Linked DNA regions of Homo sapiens: all the other regions are linked to region 2. The links are contacts of gene promoters, found by promoter capture Hi-C in blood cells and fetal thymus (Javierre and others, 2016). All regions are on one chromosome and are shown on one strand. The core of a region is centred on a gene start or on the middle of the fragment in contact, and the rest is flanking DNA. Distances in the headings are between cores, read along the strand shown. Region 1 overlaps YLPM1 (YLP motif containing 1). Region 2 holds the start of LTBP2 (latent transforming growth factor beta binding protein 2). Region 3 overlaps YLPM1 (YLP motif containing 1). Region 4 overlaps YLPM1 (YLP motif containing 1).

Region 1 (3,328 bases), core at 721-3,220, 200 kb before region 2:
GCATATCAGTAGGTGTTCTTGTATGAATACTATTCATATAACTTTTCTGTAGGTTTTAAGTTTTTCAAAGTAAAAAGGTGAAAAAGTAACATCACTTTGCATTGCATTTGAACCAAAGGATACTCACCTCTTCAATAGCAGCATCTTGCAGCAAAGAACGAATATCTAGACGCATCATGTGACGAGGTGCAGTTTCCCAGTGATCAGCCATCTATTGAAAAATTCAGATGGTTGAGTTATCTCTAGAAACTACTCAAAGACCAAGTAAGCATCCAAGATAAACAACATTTAACAATATTTTAAAATATTGTTAAATATTAATTAAATATTTGTTAAATATTAATTTAATATTGTAAAGTCTAATGGGCTAATTTCTTTTTTTTTTTGAGACAGAATCTCGGTCTGTCACCCAGGCTGGAGTGTAGTGGCGCCAACATGGCTCACTGCAGCCTTGACATGGTGGGCTCAAGTGATCTTCCCACTTCAGCCTCCCCAGTAGCTGGGACCACAGGCACATGACACCATGCCCAGCTAATTTTTGTATTTTTTTGTAGAGACAGGGTTTCGCCATGTTGCCCAGGTTGGTCTCAAACTCCCAGGCTCAAGCGATCCGCCCACCTCAGCCTCCCAAAGTGCTGGGATTACAGGCCTAAGCCACCATGCCAGGCCATAACAGGCTAATTTCAAGAAGAGCTAGGAAAAGAAACAAAGGAAGAGAAACATTTACTAAAGCAGATAGGAAAGTTATTATGAAAAAAAAAGGAGATAAACAAGAGCTTCCAGACAAGAGTGCTGATACAGATAATATGAGGTTTAGAGTACAGTCACACATCACTTAGCAATGGGCATATATTATGAGGAATGGGTCATTAGGCAATTTTGTCATTGTGTGAACATCATGGAGTATACTTACACAAACCTAGATGATAAAGCCTACTGCACATCTAGGTTACAAACTTGTACAGCATGTTAATGTACTGAATACTGTAGGCAACTGCAACACAATGAAGTATTTGTGTACTTAAACATATCTAAACACAGAAAAGGTACAATAAAAATACATTATAATCTTATGGGACCACCATATATGCAGTCCTTCCTTAACCAAAACATCATTATGCAGCGCATGATAGTACTCTATTATTCTATGTTTCTTAAAATCACCTTATTTATTTCTTTAAGCTTTCTTCCATGAATATTTCTCTTGCCACAAGTCTGGTTATCTGCACTCATTTCAGCCAAATATACCTAAGCAAGAATGAATAATAATTAGGCAAAGATATATAACATTTACATGACAACACAAAGTACTTTAAAGTTCTTTAAGCTTCTACCTCAAATCCCTTGGTTTTTGCTGCACTCCAAAACTGGTCAAAATGCCTAACTCTGTCATTGATGGCATCCAGGATGATGAAGGGAAAAAAGCCATCATCCAGAGTCTTTTTGAAAGTTTTGAACATGCTGGTGCGGTAAGTCTCCTCCATCTCAGCTTCATATTCATATTCCATTACCTAAGGTCCCCCAAAAGAGATATGGAATTAGCAAAAGCAAAGAATCATCCAAAACCTTTTCCTTGGTTAGTATTTGGATAGAGATGACTTTGTAGTCTTTCCTTCACACCCAAGTACTAAAGTACTGTGTTCGGAAAAGAGAGAGGTCCCTGCCCTCAAAAAAGCCACATTTCTCTCCAAACACATTTTCCTTTAAATACTATTAATGAATCAGAACGAGATCTGAGATGAATACCATACCTTCTTTTTCACTTTCTTTCCAGAATCTGGATCTTTTTCTTCTTTTTCCACTTCAGTGATGAAGTAATCATCCAGGCTTAGAACTCTGGGTGCAGGTCCTCCAAATTCTACCTCCTTATCCTAAGAATCATACAGTCAAGAAGGTTAAAACGAATTTATGGAATAAATTAATGTTCACACCAAAGTTCCCTCTTGTGGCTAAATAATATACAATCTTCTGGTGGTTTCAAATCAAGCAGAGGCAAAAATGTTTCTCTGAGTAGATAAAAATATATATGGGACAACATCTACCACATGGGCCAACTGTAATGGATCAAATGGAAGACAATTCTATTGGCATTATGTTGCTTGCTATTAATAAGAAGGCAAGTGACTACTAACACAAGCAGCACAAGCAGCTGATTTTTCAGCTTCCCCATACTCACTCGAATAAGTTTTGCAACATGTGTCTTTCCACTGCCAGGTAATCCTCTCATTATAACAACAATCTGAAACAGAATAGACCAAAAAAAAAAAAAAATCACTGAGAGAAAATTTTCTGCAATGAGATAACAGTTAACAATGACCTACCATTTTCCAGGATAGACTATACAACAGGCCATGAAACAAACCTTCATAAATTTGAAAGGACAGAAATAATATAAAGTATGTCACTGGACCACAGTGGAATGAAATTAGAAATTAATAGTAAGAAAAAATTAGAGAAACTCACAAATACGTGAAAACTAAACAACATACTCCTAAATAACCAATGAATCAAAGAAAAAATGAAGAGGAACCAGAAATCAAGAGGAGCCAGAAACCAGGAGGAACCAGAAAATACTCTGAGATGAATGAAAAAAACACAACACACCAAAGCTTACAGGATACAGCTAAAGCAGTGCTTAAAAGGAAATTGATAGCTATAAATGCCTATAGTAGGAAAGAAATAGGTCTCAAATCAATAACTTAACCATCCACTTTAAGACACTTGAAAAAGAAGAGCAAACTAAAGAAACAGAGGAAAGAAACAATAAAGATTAAAGCAGAAGTTAATAAAATAGAAAACAGAAAAACAAAAGAGAAAAAGTCAATAAAACCAAACGGTGGCAGTGGTTCTTTAAAAAGACCAACTTTTTTTTTTTTTTTTGAGATGGAGTCTTGCTCTGTTGCCCAGGCTGGAGTGCAGTGGTGCAATCTTGGCTCATCGCAACCTCTGCCTCCCAGGTTTGAGCGATTCTCATGCCTCAGCCTCCCAAGCAGCTGGGATTACAGGTGCCTGCCACCACGCCCGCCTAATTTTTGTGTTTTTAGTAGAGATGGGGTTTCACCGTGTTGACCAGGCTGGTCTTGAACTCCTAGCCTCAAGTGATCCGCCCACCTCAGCCTCCCAAAGTGCTGGGATGACAGGCATGAGCCACCACGCCTGACTAAGATCAACAAAATTGATGAACTCTTACCTAGGCTGAATAGAAAAAAAAGAAGATTCAAATTACCAGAATCAGAAATGAAAGCTGGGCTCAGTGGCATGTGCCTATAATCCCAGTTCCTCAGGAGGCTGAGGCAGGAGGGTCACTTGAGCCCAGGAGTGCAACCCC
Region 2 (3,195 bases), core at 638-3,137:
GTTTCTGGATAGTCCCTCTTTAGGTTCAGCCCATTAAAAAATTCAGTTACACGAGCAAACAAATCAATAACAAGATGATGTCAACTGTTTTATGAAGATGAAACAGGGTGGTGTGTTAGAGTCATGACTGGGGTGAGGGAGGGCTGCTCTAGATTGGAGGTCAGGGATGGCTACTCCAGGAGCTGATATTTAATCTGAGAGGAGCAGTGATGAGGAACTACCCTCTAACATCCTGGAGAGGAACCTTCCAGTAGAGGGAAGGGGGCATTCACTTGGCTTGTTCAAGGAGCAGAGAGAGGGCCAAGGCAGCACAGTGTGGTGGGTAAGGGAGAGCAAGAGGCCAGATGAAATCAGAGCGGGGGCAGCCAGCTAGGGTTTGTAGGCCAAGGCCAGGGGTCGAGGCTTTATTTCAACAGTAGATATTACCTGGGCTTGTCTTTTGTGTGGTGTGGGAGGTTGTGAACTGGTGCCCACATGCCAGCTCCTTCACTCTGCCTCTCTGGGAAATAGGCTGTACAAATGTGCCAGGGGCAGCCCTGTTGATCCAAGCCTTTAGGCTGTAGGGAGGGAGCATGGGTGAGAATGGTGTGCTGATTACTGGGGACACGCAGACAGCGGCAGTCAGCATTCCCACACCCCTGCCCGCCTCCCTGCTAACACAAGATGTGAATGCACACACTGGGTCAATCGGGGTCACCGAATCCCCCTCTGGGAAATTCCCGAGAGAGTGAAGGGCTGGGTGGGATCCCGGGAATGGATTCAGCCAGAGGCGGGAGGCCTAGATTCCACTCCCCTCTTTCACATGCGCTATCTCCTTGAGTGACTTACTCAAGAGGCTCCGTGTCTTTGCCTCGGTGAAAAAGAGGACCCCTTGGCCGGGCGTGGTGGCTCACGCCTTTAATCCCAGCACTTTGGGAGGCCGAGGCGGGCGGATCACCTGAGGTTGGGAGTTCGAGACCAGCCTGACCAACATGGAGAAACCCCGTCTGTACTAAAAAATAAAATAATATACAAAATTAGTCAGACTTGGTGGCGCATGCCTGTAATCCCAGCTACTAGGGAGGCTGAGGCAGGGGAATCGCTTGAACCCGGGAGGCGGAGGTTGCGGGGAGCTGAGATCGCACCATTGCACTCCAGCCTGGGCAACAAGAGCGAAACTCCGTCTCAAAAAAAAGAAAGAAAGAAAGAAAGAAAAGAAAAAGAAAAAGAAAAAGAGGACCCCTCTTCTACCGGCAGCCATCACCGCGCCAGGCTCAGGCGTGACCCTCACGCCAGTGGAAGGGGATTGAGATCCAGAGCGAAGGCGGCGGCGCCAGGGCATTGCAGCCACGGAGCGCCAGGGCCGCCAGCTCCGCCAGGGGGCGCGCCCGGGACCTCCCTGCGCTCCGCGCGCCGCGCCCCGCCCCGCGCCACCCCCGCTCCGGCCGGCCCTGCGGAGGGCGCCCCCAGCGGCCAGGGCGCAAGCGGAGGGGGCGGCGGCCCTGTTCCCCTACGCGGGCCTCGGCGCCCCTCCCGGCTTCCTTCAGACCTGCAAGGCTGCAGCCTGGGTCCCCCGATCCAAAGACGGTCCCTGAGGCGAGGGGCGGGAGAACGATTCGGGGCAGGTCTGCAGTTCGAACTTGCCCAGAGCAGGAGAAAGGCGGCCCAGTGTCCCGGTCGTGGCAGGCGCCATCTGCCCGACCAGCGCCTGGGTCAGCCCCGCGCCGCCCCCTGCTCCGCACGGGTTAATCCCCCTCGCCGCCCGCTCGCCGCCCGCTGGCTTCCCGGTGCCAAAGTGGGTGTTGCTGGAATTCCTCGCTCCCTCTCCGGTAATGAGGGGGCTGAGCTGTCCCTCCGAGGAGGGGGCCTGGTGTGGATAAAAGAGACGAAAAAGCCGGGGGAGGTTTCCAAAAATAAAACCGTCCGGGTCCCCTTCAGACGGCTGCAGGCACAGGGAGGAGGCGCGAAGGTGCAGCAGCCGTGCGAGCCCAGCTGGAGTAGGAGCGCGGACTCGAGGCTCGGGGCGCGCAGCCCTCGTTCCGCCGAGAGCCGGGCCCCCAGTCGGCCGCTTCAGGGCCCCCTAGACTCAGAGAAGCTGGCCGCCGGGCGGGGCCGGGAGAACAGCCCGCGGGCGTCCAGCGTGCCGACCACAAAGCTCTTCGCGGTGCCCGCGCGCACCACTCTCCAGCCGCCCCGCGCCATGAGGCCGCGGACCAAAGCCCGCAGCCCGGGGCGCGCCCTGCGGAACCCCTGGAGAGGCTTCCTGCCGCTCACCCTGGCTCTCTTCGTGGGCGCGGGTCATGCCCAAAGGGACCCCGTAGGGAGATACGAGCCGGCTGGTGGAGACGCGAATCGACTGCGGCGCCCTGGGGGCAGCTACCCGGCAGCGGCTGCAGCCAAGGTGTACAGTCTGTTCCGGGAGCAGGACGCGCCTGTCGCGGGCTTGCAGCCCGTGGAGCGGGCCCAGCCGGGCTGGGGGAGCCCCAGGAGGCCCACCGAGGCGGAGGCCAGGAGGCCGTCCCGCGCGCAGCAGTCGCGGCGTGTCCAGCCACCTGCGCAGACCCGGAGAAGCACTCCCCTGGGCCAGCAGCAACCAGCACCCCGGACCCGGGCCGCGCCGGCTCTCCCACGCCTGGGGACCCCACAGCGGTCTGGGGCTGCGCCCCCAACCCCGCCGCGAGGGCGGCTCACGGGGTGAGCATGGGAGAGGGAAGTTTGGAGGGTACAGAGGGGAGCCAGGGCTCATTTGTGGAGGGGCGTGCAGGCGAGAGGAGAGGGCGCCGCTCTCATACCCTCGTCCCTCTGTCTTTAGTACTTCGGGAAACAGCCCCGAGGTTCCAAAATCGGGATTGGAAGATTTGATCCGCTTTCGAAGAGTTGAAGGCAGATAGATCATCATCCTCATCCTTTCTTACCAACTCTCCCGGAGCCCCGACGTTAAATCCTTTCGCAAGGCGCCTCTCCACTCGCCCGCGTTCCTCCTGCCTGCAACTAACGAGCTCTTGTAGACTCTTGCAGCGCTGCCGGGATCTGAGAGGCAGCGGGGAGAGGGCAGGAGGGTGGGCGCTCCAGGCTCTTGACGCCCAGGGGAGGTTGAGCTGGCTCAGAGCGCGGGTTGGCGGAGGTGTCGGGGGCCCCATGGAGAGAAGGTAGATGCGTCTCCAGGAGGGGAGCCGGCAGCGAAGCTGGTGCGTCGGGACAAGTGTCGTGGGGCGT
Region 3 (3,388 bases), core at 560-3,059, 170 kb before region 2:
AACAATGTTAAGATGAAAAGAATCTGAGTTGTGATTGGCAGAGCAAACTGGGTGAGGTAGGGTGAGGGAGACATGAGGGTAATAGTTTTTAAATAACTGTAGTGACATGCTGTAGAAGAGGCATAGGATAATTCATTCTGTGTTGCTCCAGAGGCAAATCTAGAATCAACAGATAAAAGTTAAAGAATCACATTTAGGTTCAATGTAAAAAACAAACTTTCTAGAATCAATGCCTTATATGGCAGTGTTCCTAATCACAATGCCAATGTTAAGCATACAACTGCTCATCACAGAAAGTACAATGGACTTAAAGTGGGTCAGAAGTCCTTGGATTCTAATCTCATCTTGACCATTTACTAGCTGTGTTATATGAGGCAAGGTATTTACAACCTCTCTGAATCTCAGCTTTTCTTATGTATTTATTTACCTCCTGATATCACTAAGAGGAATAAATAAGATGATATGTGCAAGACTCATTGTGACAAACTGAAATGGAATACAAACGTGCGTTGCCGTAGACAGATATATTAGATAATTGCTAATATCCTCCCAGCACAGAGATTATTAACTTGAGAAGTTATTTTCTTCTGAAGACAAAACTTAAAATAGGTCCTAAATTCACACAGCCAAGATTTAGTAGGCAAAGAGAGAAAATATTAACATGACGGAAATCAAGGGAGCAGGAAATGTATGTTTCATGAGGTGTTAAGAATGTACTTCTCTGATAGCAAATTAGTTACCAGATCTAAAAGGCAATGCTCATTCCAGGAGATTAAGAACGAATTCAAATCAAGATGATACACATGCCAAATAAGCACTGACAGTATAGGCTTGAATCATGGCAGTAAACAGAGCTTAAATAGTACTTTTGCTTTGGGGACCCTCTAGACTCAACTGTACCTATTCTGGGGTTCTACTCACTCTGCTAAATAATCCTGACTGAGCAAGTTACGCAGTCCTCTCAGTGCCATTTTGTTAAGAGTAAATGGAGAATAATCTGCCTACTTCACAGGTTGTTGAGAAGACTTCCATGAGATAATAATGTGTGTAAAGTCTCTAGCAAGGCTTCTTGGTACACAGAGGAATTCATGTTAATTGCCCTTTCTCTTAACTTTGATTGTGGATGGAGTTTTGTGCCACACTGCTTTCAGAATTATAAGCTTGGGGAATAAAAGATATATTTTGTTTTCAAATGTTAAAATGAGGTTGAAAAAAATGATGATGTAGATCCACTGATACTGAGATGAAAATCTAAGCAATACGCAGATTGGTGGAAAAATAAGTTATAAGATAATCTACTCAGTATGATCCCATTTCTGCAACATATATTTTTAAAATGATTCTCTCCAGATGGTGGAATTAGGTGACTTTCACTTTTTTCTACACTTTTCTGTAATGTTTGAATTTTGTATAAGGAGTACCCATTTCTACTACAATTCCCAACTGAGAAAAAAACTGATTAAAGTATTTTTCTGGCTGAGCGTGGTGGCTCACACCTGTAATCCCAGCACTTTGGGAGGCCACGGCAGGCAGGGAGGCCAAGGCAGGAGGATCGCTTGAGCCCAGGAGTTTGAGACCAGCCTGGTCAACATAGGAAGATCCCCATCTCTACGAAGTATTTTTTAAAAACTGGCCAGATGTGTTGGTGCGCACCTCTGGTCCCAGCCACCTGGGAGGCTGAGGTGGGAGGACTGCTTGAACCCAGGAGGAAGAGGCTGCACTGAGCCATAATTCTATCACTGCACACTAGCCTGGGTGAAAAACCGAGACCCTGTCTCAAAAAATAATAATAATTTCCATAGAAAAGTTATCATTTAGGTCAACTTGGGGAGAAAAATCTATTTTTACAAACTTGGAAAAAATGAATTTAACAGTTTTTAGAAGGTAAAGAGAAAAAACTTACACACCAGCAATTTTTTTTCTTTCTAAATATGTTGTTCAGGATAAACAGAAGTATCTCCTTAACTGGGGAAAATATAAAGGATGTAAGCTCCATGGGGGCAGGAATTTTATGTGTTCTGCTATATTCACTGCTCTAAGTACAAGAGCAGGAACTTAAATATTTGCTGAATGGATAAAATAAAAGTCCTACTTACCTTATGCTAAATTTCACTGCCTCAAGCCAGTAGAATATTGGCTTATTCATCTTTATCTCTAACAACTAACAAATTATCTAACAAATAGTAATTGCCAATTCAATTATTTGTCAAATGAATGAAAAAGCAAACAAAAGATAAAGTTTAATATTATTTTTAAAGCTAATAAGTCAATACAAAATGATTAGCATTACTCTACAATACTACATTCATTCTGGATTATAATCTCTACATATAGGACAAAAGCAGAGACATCAAAGAAATGGGGGCATGTTACCTTTTCTAGATTACATACGTGATGTCTTAACAAGCAGACAATATAAGTACAAAGAGAGTATAAACATTGTATAAATGAAGCTTTTTATACCATCGAGAACCAAATAGCCTAAGTCAATAAAATAGCCAAACCAAAAAAAAAGAGAAAAAAAAGCAGACCTACCTTGGGCCTCTTGGACTTTCCAAGTAACTACTTCTAGGAGGATCTGGAAGCAGGCCACCTGATCTCACTGGCATGTCCTTCACTGCAGTGATTGGCTGAGATGGAGCAGCTGAAGACTCCCCAAGTCCTTGATCAGATGAGAATGAACTGTATGGCAGAGCAGACTTGCTCAAAGGAGCTTTTGAATTCACTTGTTCTGATGGACCAGCTGATTGCAACGGAGGATGGTAAGTTGTCGGTGGGGCAGAACCAAAAGACACAGGAGTAGGAAGCAGTGCTGGTCTAGGTTTCTCTGGAACTTGCGAGCTCTGTGAACTGGAGGCTGGTGGAACTGGGGCTGCTGTTAACTGAGGAGGTATCCCTTGTGGAACTCCAGGGGGAGGTATTCCTGGAGGAGGTGTAGCTGAAGACAATGGTGGGAGGGGCATGACAGGTGGAGGTGCTGTTGAAGAGAGAGATGGTGGGGGAAGAACTGGTGGTGGCCCTGCAGAAGACAGGGAAGGTGGGGGGAGAACTGGTGGTGGCCCTGCAGAAGAGAGAGAAGGAGGCATCCCTGGTGGGGGAACAGAGGTTGGTAGAGAAGGTGGCATAACAGGTGGGGGCATGCCAGGTGGTGGCACTGTAGCAGGGAGGGCAGGGGGCATCACTGGTGGTGGCAATGAAGGAGGCAACACTGGAGGGGGCATTGTAGGTAGAGGTGGAGGCATCTGAGAATATGGAACAAAAGGAGGTGGCATTGACATGTTCCCCATATACTGGTTCTTCATGTTCTGAAATGAATTGACTTTCTCCTGGAGATAGCTCTGAGTGGCTTTCATATGTCCCTGCCATGTTTTCCACTGCTTCTCATACT
Region 4 (2,923 bases), core at 45-2,544, 190 kb before region 2:
TCACAATCTTCACCGTACTCTACAGAGTTATACTTGGCCCACTTTCACTCATTTTTGTTATCTGATTCTTGGGGACATTTTAATTTATGGCCCCTGCTGTAGATGGTGAGAACAACTGTCAGTCTATACCTTTAAAAACAACATTTCATATTCCTGAAGATAATTATGTAATCCTTCGGTTTTTTCTTTAAACTGACGAAATTCCTTTTACTTTTTTTCACAATGCCTACCTTAAACATAGGTAAAATCCACTACAATTTCTTAAGACCTTTTACAATTTTCTCCTTACATTAAAGTGACCCAAATGAGGGTCCACAAATGAGGGACCACAAAGTAAGGGTCAAGTGTGTAAGATTATTTACTGCTCAGGTAAATCCCATCATCACATCCCTTATGATACTCCTTACGACTTTACACTGACACAACATAAACGACTTGTATTCGGCTATGACATTATCCATCACTCCCTATATATTGTTTAATTATGTTCATGTTGCCTAGAAAGCTTTAAAAAAGGATGAAGCAGCAGCAGCACCTTTTATCCAGCATTACCATGCAAAGCAATAACGAATTAAAAAGAAATTTAAAAAGGAAAAAAAAAGAAACCTTGGCAGCTTAACAACACCAATCAGCTTGGTATTCTCCATAAATAACACAGATTTTAGAGTTTTAGACAGATTGAGTTCAAAGGCCGGGTTTGCCACTTACTAGCCAAGGGAACTTAACCTCTTTGAACTTTAGTGTCATTTGTGAAGTGGGGATAATACTACCTTATCTTTGCAGGCCTTTGAGATAGACAGACTGACATAATATACACTCAATTATTAGCAAGTGCCCAGTTACACGGTAGGTGTTAAAATTAAAGGTGTCTATAACTTAAAAGTGAATAGTGTAGTAGCTAAATATTCTATAGCATGCTTTCCACATTTTCTTCATGAGTAATCTGGAAAAAATAAACCTCTTAGCTATAGACCATACAAACCTGCCGTATCTGGTCTTTCATCATTACCTTTTCTTCACCGTATTTTTCTTTCCTAGTTCTAAAGTTTAAGTTATAATTTATTGTTAAGATCCACAAATGTAAACCAGAATTGAAAAATGGAAGAAATACATTGGAATTTATCAAAACCTAATCATTAATTGACTTTCTCAAAAAAATTGCTTTAAAAAAGTTTTCAATCTGTCACTGACTTCTAAATTCCTATCCCAAGATACAGCTGGTTTAAGGATTAAATGAGTTTATTATACACAACACACTTAGTACAGTTCCTGGCCCGGAGTAAGCATGCAATAAATGTTAGCTTTTGTTATTGTTGTTACCACAAGAAAAGAGGAAAATTATGTAGATACCTATACACAGTTGATTGTAAGTCAAGAAATCCTATTTTCCATTTCACAAAGAAAACATTTGGTTATGTAGAAACAAATAACATCCTCAAGGAGAAATATCTGCTTTTAGTTATAATGAAAGATAAAACATCCCCAAAAGAAAGTATCAATAGTTAAGACAAATCTGAGGATGCTCCTAAGCAAACCATTCTTAGCTTCAACAAAGAAAAATACAGCACTTTCCAAAGTTTTATCAATGATTAGTGAATATAAAGTCTATCAGATCTAATACCAAAGAACAAACTGATTACTGGAAAAAATGAAGGTTACACATGAACCCTGTGAAATCCAGAGCACTGAAAAGTTGAAGTTTGACACTTGAAACATGCACAGGCATGGCATGCCAGCAACACTTCTACAAAGGCCAAGACAGCAATCAATTTTCACATCTTAGGGCATAAGTTTATCATTAACACAGTTCCTAAATACCCATTCTAACCCTAAAACAGCACTGAATGACCAGAAATATAAATTAAAAGTATGTGATAAGAACTTGAAGTAAAATGATTCCATTCAAATATATCATATCACTTTAAAAAGAGCAGTCTGAATGTGGTTTTTATTAAAAGAAAGGATCTGAAGGAGTCAACTTACCGAAGCATTTTCAGTTCTTGTGCAGCTTTCAAAATGATTTCATGCTGCCTCTGACTGAGAACCATTACCCCTCCAAGGCCTTGGTCAGAGTCTAAGCTTGCATCGGACCCCATCATTTCTGAGGAATGATGTGAGGAGGGCATATGTTCCGCCATGGGGGAATGTCTATCCACATCAGATGGGTACCATCTGTCTGACAACCGTTCTCTTTCCCAGTCCATTCTGTCAGGAACATAATCTCGCTTTTCCCGCCATGTATCTCCTCTTTCTGGATACTCTCGAATCCTCAACTCACCCCTATCACGGAAATCTCGATCATACCCATGCTCTCGATTTCTTTCTTCTCTCCATCTATCATCCCGATATCTATCCAAAGGTGGAAGAGGTGGGAGGGGCGGTAAAGGTGGAAGAGATGGAATATCCCGTTCACGAAACTGTGATTCTTGTTCATCCAGTGGTCTCCCATAATCTCTGTCCCACTCATTATCCAAACTTCTATCATACATATCCATAGGTCTTGAAATCCGATCCACATCCCTGTCCATGTCCCTTTCCATTTCCCTATTGTAGTCCTCATCCATATCCTGGTCTCTCTCCCAATCATCCCACCAAGGGCCTCGCCTATCTCCATCATGAGACCGAGATGGTGGTGCTGAGAACCTGTCCTCTCTGTTATAGAGCTCTAGTGTATCATCTTGATAGTCACGTTCACATTCTCTCCAGTATCTCTCTCTATCCCAGTCATCGAGTCTTTCTCGTTCCATTGGAGCATTTCTACCATCTAATGGAAACTCTTCATGCCCTCGCTCTTCTCCATGGTTCCATGGAGCCCTAGGAGGCTCATCCCGGTGATATGGATACATTTTTTCCCCACCATCTCCTGGTTCTGGTCTGAATGGACCTCTATCACGACCAAAATCTGATCTTCCCAGTCCCCTTT

Evidence for each region. Contacts are between HindIII fragments. The CHiCAGO score rates a contact against its expected background, and 5 or more counts as called.
Region 1: a contact is called between a fragment that was not itself captured here and the fragment with the promoter of LTBP2 in region 2, in 7 of 17 cell types (endothelial precursors, megakaryocytes, erythroblasts and 4 more). The highest score is 14.7, in endothelial precursors.
Region 3: a contact is called between a fragment that was not itself captured here and the fragment with the promoter of LTBP2 in region 2, in 9 of 17 cell types (endothelial precursors, M2 macrophages, M1 macrophages and 6 more). The highest score is 11.2, in endothelial precursors.
Region 4: a fragment that was not itself captured here is called in contact with the fragment with the promoter of LTBP2 in region 2 in 9 of 17 cell types (endothelial precursors, erythroblasts, megakaryocytes and 6 more); the score reaches 15.4 in endothelial precursors.

The regions. Positions count from the first base shown.
Region 1 is chr14:74,815,114-74,818,441 of GRCh38, reverse strand. YLPM1 (YLP motif containing 1) reads right to left here. Exons shown (of 21, transcript NM_019589.3): 12 at 2,177-2,239; 13 at 1,752-1,871; 14 at 1,335-1,511; 15 at 1,165-1,248; 16 at 128-211. Among named protein-coding and RNA genes, the nearest start is that of YLPM1, 53 kb to the right of the region's middle. The HindIII fragment of the contact is 1,282 bases long and covers 1,330-2,611 here.
Region 2 is chr14:74,610,929-74,614,123 of GRCh38, reverse strand. It overlaps LTBP2 (latent transforming growth factor beta binding protein 2), which reads left to right and starts at 1,887. Exons shown (of 36, transcript NM_000428.3): 1 at 1,887-2,673. The coding sequence starts at 2,180. It overlaps LOC101928352 (a long non-coding RNA gene), which reads right to left and starts at 939. Exons shown (of 2, transcript XR_944029.4): 1 at 829-939; 2 at 76-557. RefSeq lists a silencer at 1,257-1,576 and an enhancer at 1,204-1,831. The HindIII fragment of the contact is 11,176 bases long and covers 1-3,195 here.
Region 3 is chr14:74,781,473-74,784,860 of GRCh38, reverse strand. It overlaps YLPM1 (YLP motif containing 1), which reads right to left. Exons shown (of 21, transcript NM_019589.3): 4 at 2,536-3,388. Among named protein-coding and RNA genes, the nearest start is that of YLPM1, 20 kb to the right of the region's middle. The HindIII fragment of the contact is 1,293 bases long and covers 1,163-2,455 here.
Region 4 is chr14:74,798,758-74,801,680 of GRCh38, reverse strand. It overlaps YLPM1 (YLP motif containing 1), which reads right to left. Exons shown (of 21, transcript NM_019589.3): 5 at 1,984-2,923. Among named protein-coding and RNA genes, the nearest start is that of YLPM1, 37 kb to the right of the region's middle. The HindIII fragment of the contact is 1,574 bases long and covers 508-2,081 here.